Regions from separate parts of the Homo sapiens genome. Here region 2 is linked to region 1. Evidence: promoter capture Hi-C in human tissues and cell types (Jung and others, 2019). All regions are on one chromosome and are shown on one strand. Each heading gives the region's core, a stretch centred on a gene start or on the middle of the fragment in contact. The rest is flanking DNA. Distances are from core to core; before and after follow the strand shown. Region 1 overlaps RIN1 (Ras and Rab interactor 1). Region 2 holds the start of EFEMP2 (EGF containing fibulin extracellular matrix protein 2).

Region 1 (5,451 bases), core at 2,627-5,126:
CTCCCACCAGGGTCTAGCATGGGCTGGGGTGGGTGAGTGGTGGTGGGACAGGACAGGGCTGGAGTGAGGAGACTCGGGAGAGGGCTTGGACCGCTTCTGTGTGCTCCAAAGTATAAAAGTCTGTGTGTGTCTGTGTGTGTGTGTCTGTGTGTCTATGTGTGTGTGTGTCTGTCTTTGTGTGTCTGTGTGTCTGTGTGTGTGTCTCTGTGTGTCTATGTGTGTCTGTGTGTGTGTGTCTCTGTGTGTCTGTGTGTGTATGTCTCTGTGAGTTTCTGTGTGTGTCTTTGTGAGTGTGTCTCTGTGTGTGTTTGCACTTCAAATGCTTGGAGAGTGGGAAGGGGCAGCCGTGTGCTGTGTCTCGGGAGAGTGTGCGCCGTTGCGTCTGAGTGGGGGATGGAGTGTGCCGGTGGCAGTTCTGCACAGGTAGGTCTAGTGCATCATGGGATCCCAGTGTAGGTGGTCACCATGTGTCTCTGTGTCAGCCTGTCCCCATGTGTGTGTCCAGGAGTCACACTCTGAACCCAAGAACAAGGGTGCTGAAATATTTCAGTGTTTGCAGATCCAGGGATGTCTGAGTGGGTGGCTGGTCTGTGTCAGGGTGTGTCTGGGAGGAGGGGCGCCAGTGTGTCCCTGCACCCCATCCCGCAGGAGTGAATGGCTGACAGTGTCAGGGTGTGCCTGTTAACCCTGGGGGTGCCCCAGGGTTGTTGCACGTGCCCGTGGCTGGCAGGATGTGCACCCTGTGTGGGAATGTGGGTCAGACAGTGTCACTGTGTGTTAATTGTGGGTGTGAACATGGGTTGCAAGGCCATGGCAGGGTGCTAGATGCTCTGTGTTGAAGGTGTGGCAGGGTAGGGTGGGTCTCAATGACTGCCTTCTGCTGCAACCCTTTCAGGCCACCAGTAGGCCCCTGGTTCCTAGAGCACACTGGCCCACAGAACCAGGGATATGCAGCCCTTCCCTCACCCCCCATTCGCAGGGTCCCAGGGACCCACCACTGGGTGCTTTCCTCCTAGCAGCAGGCTGGGAGCACTGAGTCCCCTGGGTCCTCCGCCTCAGCAGAGGGGACCCTGCACGTGGCCAGGAATGAGGTGCGCTCTGCCCCCTGGTGGCAGCAATGAAGGATGCGCCACCCTGCAACCCAGGAAAGCGGAGGGACAGTTTAGGCTGCGTCTTTCCGAATCAGTCATTCCACATAGATTCACAAGTGCCAGTTCCGGCCCGGCCATTGTTCAAGGCCCTTGAGATTTAACTGCGAACAAGGTGGGGGTGGCTCTGGCATTCTAGTGAGGGAAACAGACAATAAACTTGCATACAGAACCACCGTGACTTTAGGAGTGATAAGGTCAATGCTTCCAAGTAAGGAAATGACCCGACTGCTCTTTCATAGATCCAAACGTCAGAGTTCCAGTCTTGCCCTGCAGCAGCGGACGCTGGGCCAGGCATGTCACCTCTTGGAGCCTTGGCTTCTTTTTCCATAAGGACAAAGGCTGGGGAAGGGGTGGCATGGAATCCCTAGGACACAGTGAGCTTTCAGTTACCACCCAGATCACGCCATGCAAATGGAGAGATGTGACCTATTTCCCTTTGGCTGGAGCTGGGGGCGCTTGGTGCTTGGTCTATAACAGACACTTCTGTTGTTGTTGTTGTTGTTTGATTTTTTTTTTTGGAGTCTTGCTCTGTCGCCCAGGCTGGAATGCAGTGGTGTGATCTCAGCTCACTGCAACCTCCACCTCCCAGGTTCAAGCAATTCTCCAGTCTCAGCCTCCCAAGTAGCTGGAACTACAGGCGTGAGCCACCTTGCCCAGCTAACTTCTATATTTTTAGTAGAGATGGGGTTTCACCATGTTGGCTAGGCTGGTCTTGAACTCCTGACCTCAGGTGATCTGCCTACCTCGGCCTCCCAGAGTGCTAGGATTACAGGCCTGAGCCACCTTGCCCGGCCTATAACAGATGTTTGATAGATGTGCTGAGTGGACATATAAATCAGCCCCTCTGCTTTGAAGGACTACAGAACCTGGTGTCTGAGCCCTTTGTCCTGTAACAAGGCACTTTCCCTGAGCAAGTCTGAGTTTTCTCATCTGTAAAATGGGGCTAGTGAGACTGGTCTTACACTGGCCTATCATTGTCTGCCTTGCCTGGAGGCTCTGCCCCAGGATCATAATCTTGTTGATGCTGATTTGGCCTGGACCCCTGACCAATCAGTTTCTTTTTTGTTTTCTTTTCATTTCTTTTTTTTTTTTGAGATGGAGTCTTGCTCTGTTGCCCAGGGTGGAGTGCAGTGGTGTGATCTCGGGTCACTGCAACCTCTGCCTCCCGGGTTCAAGTGATTCTCTTGCCTCAGCCTCCCCAGTAGCTGGGACTACAGGTGTGTGCCACGACGCCTGGCTAATTTTTGTATTTTTAGTAGAGACGGGGTTTCACCATGCTGGCCAGGCTGGTCTTGAACTCCTGACCTCAGGTGATCCACCGGCCTCGGCCTCCCAAAGTGTTGGGATTACAGGCGTGAGCCACCAGGCCCAGCCCAGAGTTTCTTGAGAAGAAAAACCACAAGACCCAGGCAGCAGCTCCCTGTGGTGCCCCATCACTGGGGAGGGCAGGGAGGGGGTCAGGTCATGCTGAGCCTGGCAAGGGTGGGAAGGGCTTGTAGAGGCCCCAGAGCCTCATTCCCATGAGGCCAGTTGTACATCCGGCCCCTGGGATCCTCCGAGCACCCTCTACAAACATTCCAGGTCCTTCCTCTGGGACTGAGCTTGACACATCCCGTGTTTGATTCCCAGAACCGAGTCCTCCCTTATACTCCCCAGGTTTCTGCCTCACTGTCCCTCACTCCTGGTTATCAAACTCCAATCAGTGAACAACATTTATTGAACACCTATGGCATTTGTGCTCAGCATTGGACTGTGTGAGGCACTAGGGGTGAGTGGTGAAACAGGGAGGGGAATAGAAGAGCCAACGGGACACTTCCTATCAGCGAGAACCTTGGGAGGGCGTGGAAGTGGGGAGGGAAGAGCTGCTGGTGGCCTAGTGACAAAAAAAATGGGAGCCGTGCAACTGGGCTGTATCTGGACTGCTCATCTGAAAGTCAATGTCTGGCTGGGTGTGGTAGCTCACGCCTGTAATCCCAGTACTTTGGGAGGCCAAGGCGGGCGGATCACCTGAGGTCGGGAGTTTGAGACCAGCCTGGCCAACATGGGGAAACCCCGTCTCTACTAGTAACACAAAAATTAGCCAGGTGTGGTGGTGCACACCTGTAGTCCCAGCTACTCGGGAGGCTGAGGCAGGAGAATCACTTGAACTGGGAGGCGAAGGTTGCTGTGAGCCGAGATGGCACCACTGCACTTTAGCCAGAGCGACAGAGCAAAACTCCATCTCAAACAAACAAACAAACAAAAAAACCCAAAAAGCCAATGTCCACGATTTCTACCTCCCAGTTGTCATGTCTGACATTTGGGCTGACGTCCCCTCTGTGCTCAGTGCCCGAGGAGAGAGCCTCTGGGGTCATCCTCCATAAGGGGACAATTCCTTCCTTCCTGGGGATGGCCCCCAAGAGGCTGGCCTTACCCAGACCCCAGAATCTAAGGGACCTGGGGGCCAGTGGCCTTGGCCCCTGCGCTGTCCCCAGGTTGCCTGATGCTGCTGGACTGCAAGGCCCGGGACCCCCTCTGCTGCTGCAGCCTTGGAGGCGCCCTCACCCCTGGGTGGTCACCCTCTCGGCAGATTCCCGGGCCGTGCACACCCCCTCGTGGTTGGTGGTCGGCACTTTTCCTTGTTTGGATTTGCTGCCTGCTCTGGGCTTCCTTGGGGGCTGCCCCGGCCTTTGTGGGTGGCTTAGAATGGAGGGTGGAGTTGGAACCTGATGCCCTGGTTTGGGCGGGGGAACCCTTAAGGACTTGCTATATGACATCCTGGGAGTCACTTTCCTGACCCTCAGTGGGCCCAACAAGTCATGGCCAAGTAAAGCTTTTGTGAGGGCCAAGAGTTTAGTGCAGAGAGCATGGTTTCTGAGCCCCCTCTCCATTCTGGAAGCTTATCTGCCAGCTGGTGGATCTCCCCAGAGATGCTGGAGGGCCTGGGAGGACTCCAAATCTTGGGGAGAGACTGTAACTTGGGTACTTTCTCCCCAGGGCCTGATTTCCAGGGGAATAACCTCCCTGAACTGGGCATCAGCAGGTGGGAGCCCTGTCTGGCAGAGAGCGGACTCCGGGAGAGAGTTAGCAGCCCAGCTCTCTCCCTCCCTTTCTGCCATGAGCTCTGCTTGTAGCAAAATCACCCATTTTGATCACTGGGACACTTCTGGGAGCCGAGCAGGGCAGCAATAGTGTCCCCACTTTACAGATGAGAGTACTGAGGCTTGCAGGTGCAGGTCCTTCTGGTGTCCAGGACAGGGGTGGGCCCCAAGCCTTTGCTGCTGTTCTGTGGCCTCTCTAAATCCTCCTGACACCTAAGAGCCATTGGAACCTTTTAGGGTCTGGAAGTCCCAGCCTGGTGGGAGATACTTGGGTGGAGCCCTGCCTCAGCCATGCCCATGAGGGGAAGGGTAAAAGGAGCTGAGACCGTCACCCTCCCCACGTCAGAGGTTGGGCATCTGTCGGATTCGCCCCCACTTGGCACACCCTCATTGCAGGCTGGCTCACCCTCAGCTGGGGGAGAAGAACAAGAGGCAAGGGGCCTTGGGCACACAGTCTGGGGGCCCCCGAAGCCCCCTCATCTTTATTCCAGTTCCTCAGATGTGGCAGTTCCCCCAGCTTCCCTGGAAACAAGTATCAGACAAAGGTGGTGGCAGACACAGGACAGGGCCCTGGGTGGGGCTTGCTGGCGCTAAAAGGATTTCTCAGCAGGCTCAGGGTCTCCCGCCCCGAATGACCCTTCTGGCCACTTCAAGCTACTCCTCTGCTGCCCGGCTTCCCTCTGCCTCTGGTTCCCCTGGCTGAGCAGGGCCTTCCTGGGCTTGACCCTGGCCCCCTTCAGCAGTTGTCTCAGACTGTTCCCGAATGTCCCTGGGGCTGGCTTTGACCCCAGCATCCCCATCTCCCTGGCACCCTTGCTCCTCCCCTCTGCTTCTTGCCTCTGACTGCCCACTGCCCTCCTCCTCTGTCACAGCCCCCTGGGTCTCAGGCCACTCCGCCCGGCGGTAGACGAGGTAGCCAGTGGTGGGCAGCCTGTGGGCCAGGGCCCCAGGGGGCAGGCGGTGGTAGCCCTGCTCCTTGTACAGGAAGAGGCCAAAAGTGTTGGGCTGGGTCACTCGGAACTTGGTGGCACAGAGCTGGTTCAGGGTGGCAATCGAGGCTTCTGGGGGCACGGCCAGGGTCTTGGAGGTGCAGCCACTGCTGGGATCCTGATAGGCTACTCGGAGGAGGTGCTATGCAGGAGGAGAAGCAAAAACAAGTACTCAGCCCCGGCTGGCATGCATCTGGCTCCAAAGCTGAGACATCAGCTTTCTGGGCTGTG
Region 2 (5,451 bases), core at 1,808-4,307, 460 kb before region 1:
GTGCACAGTGACAGGAGGCGGAGGCCTCAAATGGAGAACTGTGTGGCAGGAGGCACGGCATAGCTAGGGCCTGGGGGTCCACAGAGGAGTACACAGCAGGGATGGAGCTCTCACCACTGCAGGAGAAGCCATCCCGATGCAGCTCATAGCCCTGGTGGCAGCGACACAGGAAGGTCCCATAGGAGTTGAAGCAGCGCTGCTCGCATGGGGCCCCCATGTCACACTCGTTCACATCTGGGGGTGCCAGGAAAAACAGGAGGGATGAAAGCGGAGGAGGAGCCCAGAGCCTCCACTCTACCTGGGCTGGTCAAGAAGGGAGCGCCCCCACCTCACACCTCCCTGCCCAGGACCCAGGAGCCTGGCCCAGCCCAGCCTCACCAACACAGGAGCGGTTGTTAGGCCCCAGCTGGAAGCCCGGCTCGCACTGGCAGCGGAAGGAGCCAGGCAGGTTCACGCAGCGGTGCTGGCAGTAGCGGTAGCGGCACTCGTCTATGTCTAGGGATAGAGGCAGGAGAAGGAGGGCGGAGGGCAGAGGGCAGAGGGCAGGTGGGCTCGAGCCGGCTGGGACTCAAGGCTTCACCACCCATAATCCTGTGTCCGAGGAGCTGAATTAGGCAGGGTCAGCCAGGACACCTCCCAAACACTCCCCGCTACAGTCCTCTGTGTCTGATGACGGAGGGTGAGGTGGCAGGGGCCGGGGGTGAAGCCTGGCTTGAATGGGGGTCAGGTGCTAGGGCAAGGGCCAGACCAGGGACACAAAGCCGGGACTACAGAAGCTGCTTCCTGGACTCACCCACACACTCGGGCCCGATCTTGCGGTAACCATCAGGGCAGGTGCACTGATAGGAGCCAGGCAAGTTATGGCAGTCCTGGCTGGGGCGACAGTCGTGCAGGGCCTGGGCACACTCGTCCACATCTGCGAGAGACACCACTCAGCCCCTGCCTGGGATCCCGCACACCACCCAACATGACAGATAGTTCCAACACTTGTATTCGGTTCTCTCAACAGCACGCGTAAGAGTTCACCAGCCTGGAGCCATCAGGAAAGGCACCCCTAACCTCTAAAACCACATGTTGGGGGTTGCACAGGAAATAAGGTCCTGTCCAAACATCCCCAGCAACACTGATTCCTGGACTGTCCTTCCTCCAAGGCCTGTGGCTCCCAGGGGACAGACACTGGAAGGCAGACTTCCTGCAGTGTCTCTGCAGCAACCGAGGGGAGGGGCCCGGAGCTGGCTGGAGCAGTGGCACACAAGCTGGGGCCACCTGCGGCAGGTCCTAAACAACATGAGTGTCTGGATGAGGGTGTGGACATCACCAGTGGCCCTTTTGAGCTGGGGAGGAACATGAGGTCTGAGTTTAAGACGCCTGGTGAGAGGACTGGAAGCCAGGCACCAGAGCAGTCCCCACTCACCCACACAGCTGTCCTGATCGTCGGGCTCATAGCCTGGTGGGCAGGGGTTGGGGTGTTGAGCGGGAGGCACTGGTGGCGGGGGTCCCTCGCCGTGTAGGTCGTTGATGACGGCAGCGGAGCGGGGCAGGCACAAGTAGCCCCCGTAGTGGTTGATGCACTTCATTTCCCCCTTGCAGGCCTCAGGGATGGTCAGACACTCGTTGACATCTGCAGAGAGGGGCCTGCTGGGCACAGCCAGTCTCCTGGGCTGGCCCTGGAGGGAGCGGAGGCAGGAACCCAGCTCGGCCTTCTCTGAGATGTGTGGCCCCAGCAAAGCCTTCCCACTCTGCTCAACAAGCTAAGTCTGCCTGCTCAGGACCCCTCCCCAGGGTTGGCCAAGGCTGGAGATGGGGCAGCTGTTCCCACTGTTGCCCTCATTCTCGGCCTGCAAGTGGGTCTCTATCCCTCCCCACGGCCCTAGCCCTAGCTCAGCCCAAGATGGGGGGCCTCCTTACCCACCCCTGGGGACGCTACCCTCCCAGGTTGTGATGAGACAAAGAGCTGGGACAGGAGAGTGGTTCAGAGAAGGCGTACAGGATCCAGCTCCTCTGAGGGGTAGGGACAAGGTTTCCTGGGTTTCTGGGAGAGGATGAGGCCACCCCTAGCTCAACTGGCCTCCAGAGAGCCAGAGCTGGCCTCTGTGTAGCAGAGCTGGGCATAGAACGGGCTGCTGGGCTCCCACGGCAGTTCTTGGAGGTGGGGCTGTCCCTTGGAAAGCAGCTATCAATCCCTTTCCGGGTTCCTGGGGGTGTTTGGTCCCCCAGGCACACACACCCCGGCAGTGCTGGCTGTCTGGGTCCCACTCATAGCCATCTGTGCATTCCTGGAAGGGAACCAGAAGTGGCCAGTGGTCACCCTAAGATCTCCTCCAACTGGCCAGGCCAAGACTAGGGCCTGAGCCTGGCCACCCTCCGGCCTGCTCCAAACAATGGCCCCCAGCTCTCCACCAGCCAGGGGAGGAAGACTTCCCCGGCAGCAGTCACCCTGGGTCCCGGTCTCTTCCTCCCTACCCTTCCTGTCCCAGGCCAGCGGCCCTCACTGTCCCCACCGTGTAGCTGTCGGGCTCTTCAGAATCCTGAGGAGAAGCTGATCCCAAGAGCAACAGTAGCAGCGCCCAGAGCAGTAGAGACCCGGGTAGGCAGGAGGCGCAGGGGAGCATCCTGGGGCTGCGAGATGGTGGACACGGGTCAGGGGCCTCTGCCCGCGGCACCTCAACTCCCTGTACCGGGAGCCCGAGCCCAGCCCCCGCCACTGCCCGCTCAGGACCGTGCTTGGGCCTCGGGGCCTCCCAGGGCTGGGGGCCGACTCCTCACAGGCCCAGGTCCCAGGCCCGGGTCCCAGGCCCACCCGCCCCGGCCACCCCGCCCCCGCCCCGCGCCCCTGCGGCGAAGGCCGAGGAGCGCGGGCCTCTGTGGGCGCTACGCTGCCGCGGACTCGGCCGAGACTCCGGCCCACGCCCTCCCCCACGGACGGTCACAGCCACTCACTTGGGCCCGCGACACCCCCGCGGCCCGCGGCTCTGGCGGCTCGGCTGGCTCGGGCAATGCCTGCGGGCAGACGGACGGGCGGACGGCACAGCTCCCTGGACGCGCGGCCCCAGGAAGCGCCCCCCGCCCGCCCGCCTGCCGCGGCGCGGCCCACCCCGGCGCCTCCGCCCGCCCTTCGGCGGATTCCTGAGCCAGCGCCAGGGGGAGGGACCCCGACCCCCCGCTTCTCCGCCCCCGGCCAGCCACAGGCCCCTACCCGGTCCCCCGCGGCGCCGCCAGGAGCCGCCTCCCGGCGCCGGACCAGGGTCCCCCAGTGCTCGATCCTGGGGCCCCGACCTTGATGCCAGGCCCCCAGACTCACCCGGGGGCCCCCAGACGCTCACCAAAAATGTCATCCTGCTCACCTAGGTCCTACCTAATCTGCGCCCCCAGAATTTCATCCTGTGCACCCACACCGTAATCCTGGAGCCCCCAGATTCTCATTGTGCGCCTCCCGAGATCGTCCTGGGTACCTAGAGCCCACCTAACCCAGTCCTCCAGACCCTCAATCTGCTCCCTGCAAAATTTTATTCTCTGCCCCAGACCGTCATTGTAAAAGATCCTAAAACTTCATCCAGGGTCCCCAGACCCTCGCCCAGGAACGAGAGGCTCCCAGGAGCAGAACTGTCCTTCTCGCTCCCTCCTGCCCTCCACCCCCAGGACCGTCTTCAGCCGGGTGGTCCTTTCACTACACACGGCCTCCCCCACACCCTCCATCCACAAAGCTACAAGTTTGGGGGCGAGGGCGGCAGTTCCCTTTTGGCACAAAATGAATGGAAGCCCCTGAGAAGGAGGGCAGGGCTGATGTCGGACGTGCGGGATGCCAGAGTCGGGTGCCAAGGCGCCTCCTCGACCTCCTCGCACCAGCGTCCCCCGCCCGGTTTCCGCCTCCGCCCGAAGTGGGGGCGTGTCCTTGGGGCGGAGTATGGGCGGGGCTGGCTCCCAGGAAGGGCGTGGCCTCTGTTTGCCCACGTCTTTGGGCGGGGCCAGGCGGGAAAGCACTGCGTGTCCGGGGATCCCCCGCCTGGGGCCCGCCCTTCCTTTCCCCTTGCCATCCCTGCTTATCCCCGCAGTCGCCCTCCACGTGACCCCGGGGAGGGAGTCTGCCGAGGAGGGGACGTGCTGGTGGGTCCCGCGGCGAGCGCCTGGGGCTCAGGTGAACTGCGCAGTGCCCGCTCCTCGCCACTCTGCCACCACCATCCCTCCCAGCTGCTGGGGCAGAAGGTTAAATAATAGCTCTTTAGGGGCCGGACGCGGTGGCTCAAGCCTGTAATCCCAGCACTTTGAGAGGCCGAGGCAGGTGGATCACCTGAGGTCAGGAGTTCGAGACCAGTCTGGACAACATGGTGAAACCCCGTCTCTACTAAAAATATAAAAATTAGCCAGGCGTGGTGGCGCGTGCCTGTAGTCGCAGCTACTCAGGAGCCTGAGGCAGGAGAATCACCTGAACTCGGGAGGTGGAGGTTGCAGAGAGCCCAGATCACACTGCTGCACTCCATGGGTGACAGAGGGAGACTCCATCTTAAAATAATAATAATAATAATAGGCCCGACGCGGTGGCTCACGCCTGTAACCCCAACACTTTGGGAGGCCAAGGTGGGCAGATCACAAGGTCAGGAGTTCAAGACCAGCCTGGCCAACATGGTGAAACCCTGTCTTTACAAAAACACAAAGAAATTAGCTGGTGTAGTGGCACGTGCCTCTAATCCCAGCTACTCGGGAGTCTGAGGCAGAATAATCTCTTAAACCCGGGAGGCAGTTGTTGCAATGAGCCGAGATTGTGCCATTGCACTCCAGCCTGGGCGACAGAGCGAGACTCCATCTCAAAAATAGTAATAATAATAATAGCTCTTTAAAACGAGAAAGACAGTAACAAGTGTTGGCAAAGATACGGAGAAACTGGAGCCCTCATGCACTGTTGGTGGACAATGGTCTGGCAGTTCCTCAAAATGTTATCACATGACCTGACAATTTCACTCCTAGGTATACATACCTAGGATAATTGAAAAGATATGTACACACACACAAATCTGTACGCAGCGTTTATAGCTGCACTATATATAAGAGCCAAATGCAGAAACAACACAAAAGCCGTCAACTGATGAATAACAAGATGCAGTACATCCACACAGTCGAACATTATTCAGCCATAAAAACTAATGAAGTACTGATGCATGCCACAATATAGGTGAATTCTTTTTTTTTTTTTTTTTTTTAATTGAGACGGAGTCTTGCTCTGTCGCCCAGGCTGGAGTGCAGTGGCGCCATCTCGGCTCACTGCCAGCTCCGCTTCCTGGGTTCACGCCATTCTCCTGCCTCAGCCTCCTGAGTAGCTGGGACTACAGGCACCCGCCACCAGGCCCGGCTAATTTTTTGTATTTTTAGTAGAGATGGGGTTTCACCGTGTTAGCCAGGATGGTCTCAATCTCCTGACCTTGTGATCCGCCTACCTTGGCCTCCCAAAGTGCTGGG

The links. Contacts are between HindIII fragments. The study calls those that stand out against the background at their distance.
Region 2: the fragment with the promoter of EFEMP2 here is called in contact with a fragment that was not itself captured in region 1 in 1 of the 25 tissues and cell types used here (dorsolateral prefrontal cortex).

Annotation. Positions count from the first base shown.
Region 1 is chr11:66,327,391-66,332,841 of GRCh38, forward strand. RIN1 (Ras and Rab interactor 1) reads right to left here. Exons shown (of 10, transcript NM_004292.3): 10 at 2,851-5,362. The coding sequence ends at 4,886. Among named protein-coding and RNA genes, the nearest start is that of RIN1, 6.3 kb to the right of the region's middle. The HindIII fragment of the contact is 6,220 bases long and covers 767-5,451 here.
Region 2 is chr11:65,869,743-65,875,193 of GRCh38, forward strand. It overlaps EFEMP2 (EGF containing fibulin extracellular matrix protein 2), which reads right to left and starts at 3,058. Exons shown (of 11, transcript NM_016938.5): 1 at 2,941-3,058; 2 at 2,502-2,619; 3 at 2,228-2,276; 4 at 1,415-1,621; 5 at 794-916; 6 at 379-495; 7 at 115-234. The coding sequence starts at 2,612. RefSeq lists a silencer at 4,061-4,120. The HindIII fragment of the contact is 15,058 bases long and covers 36-5,451 here.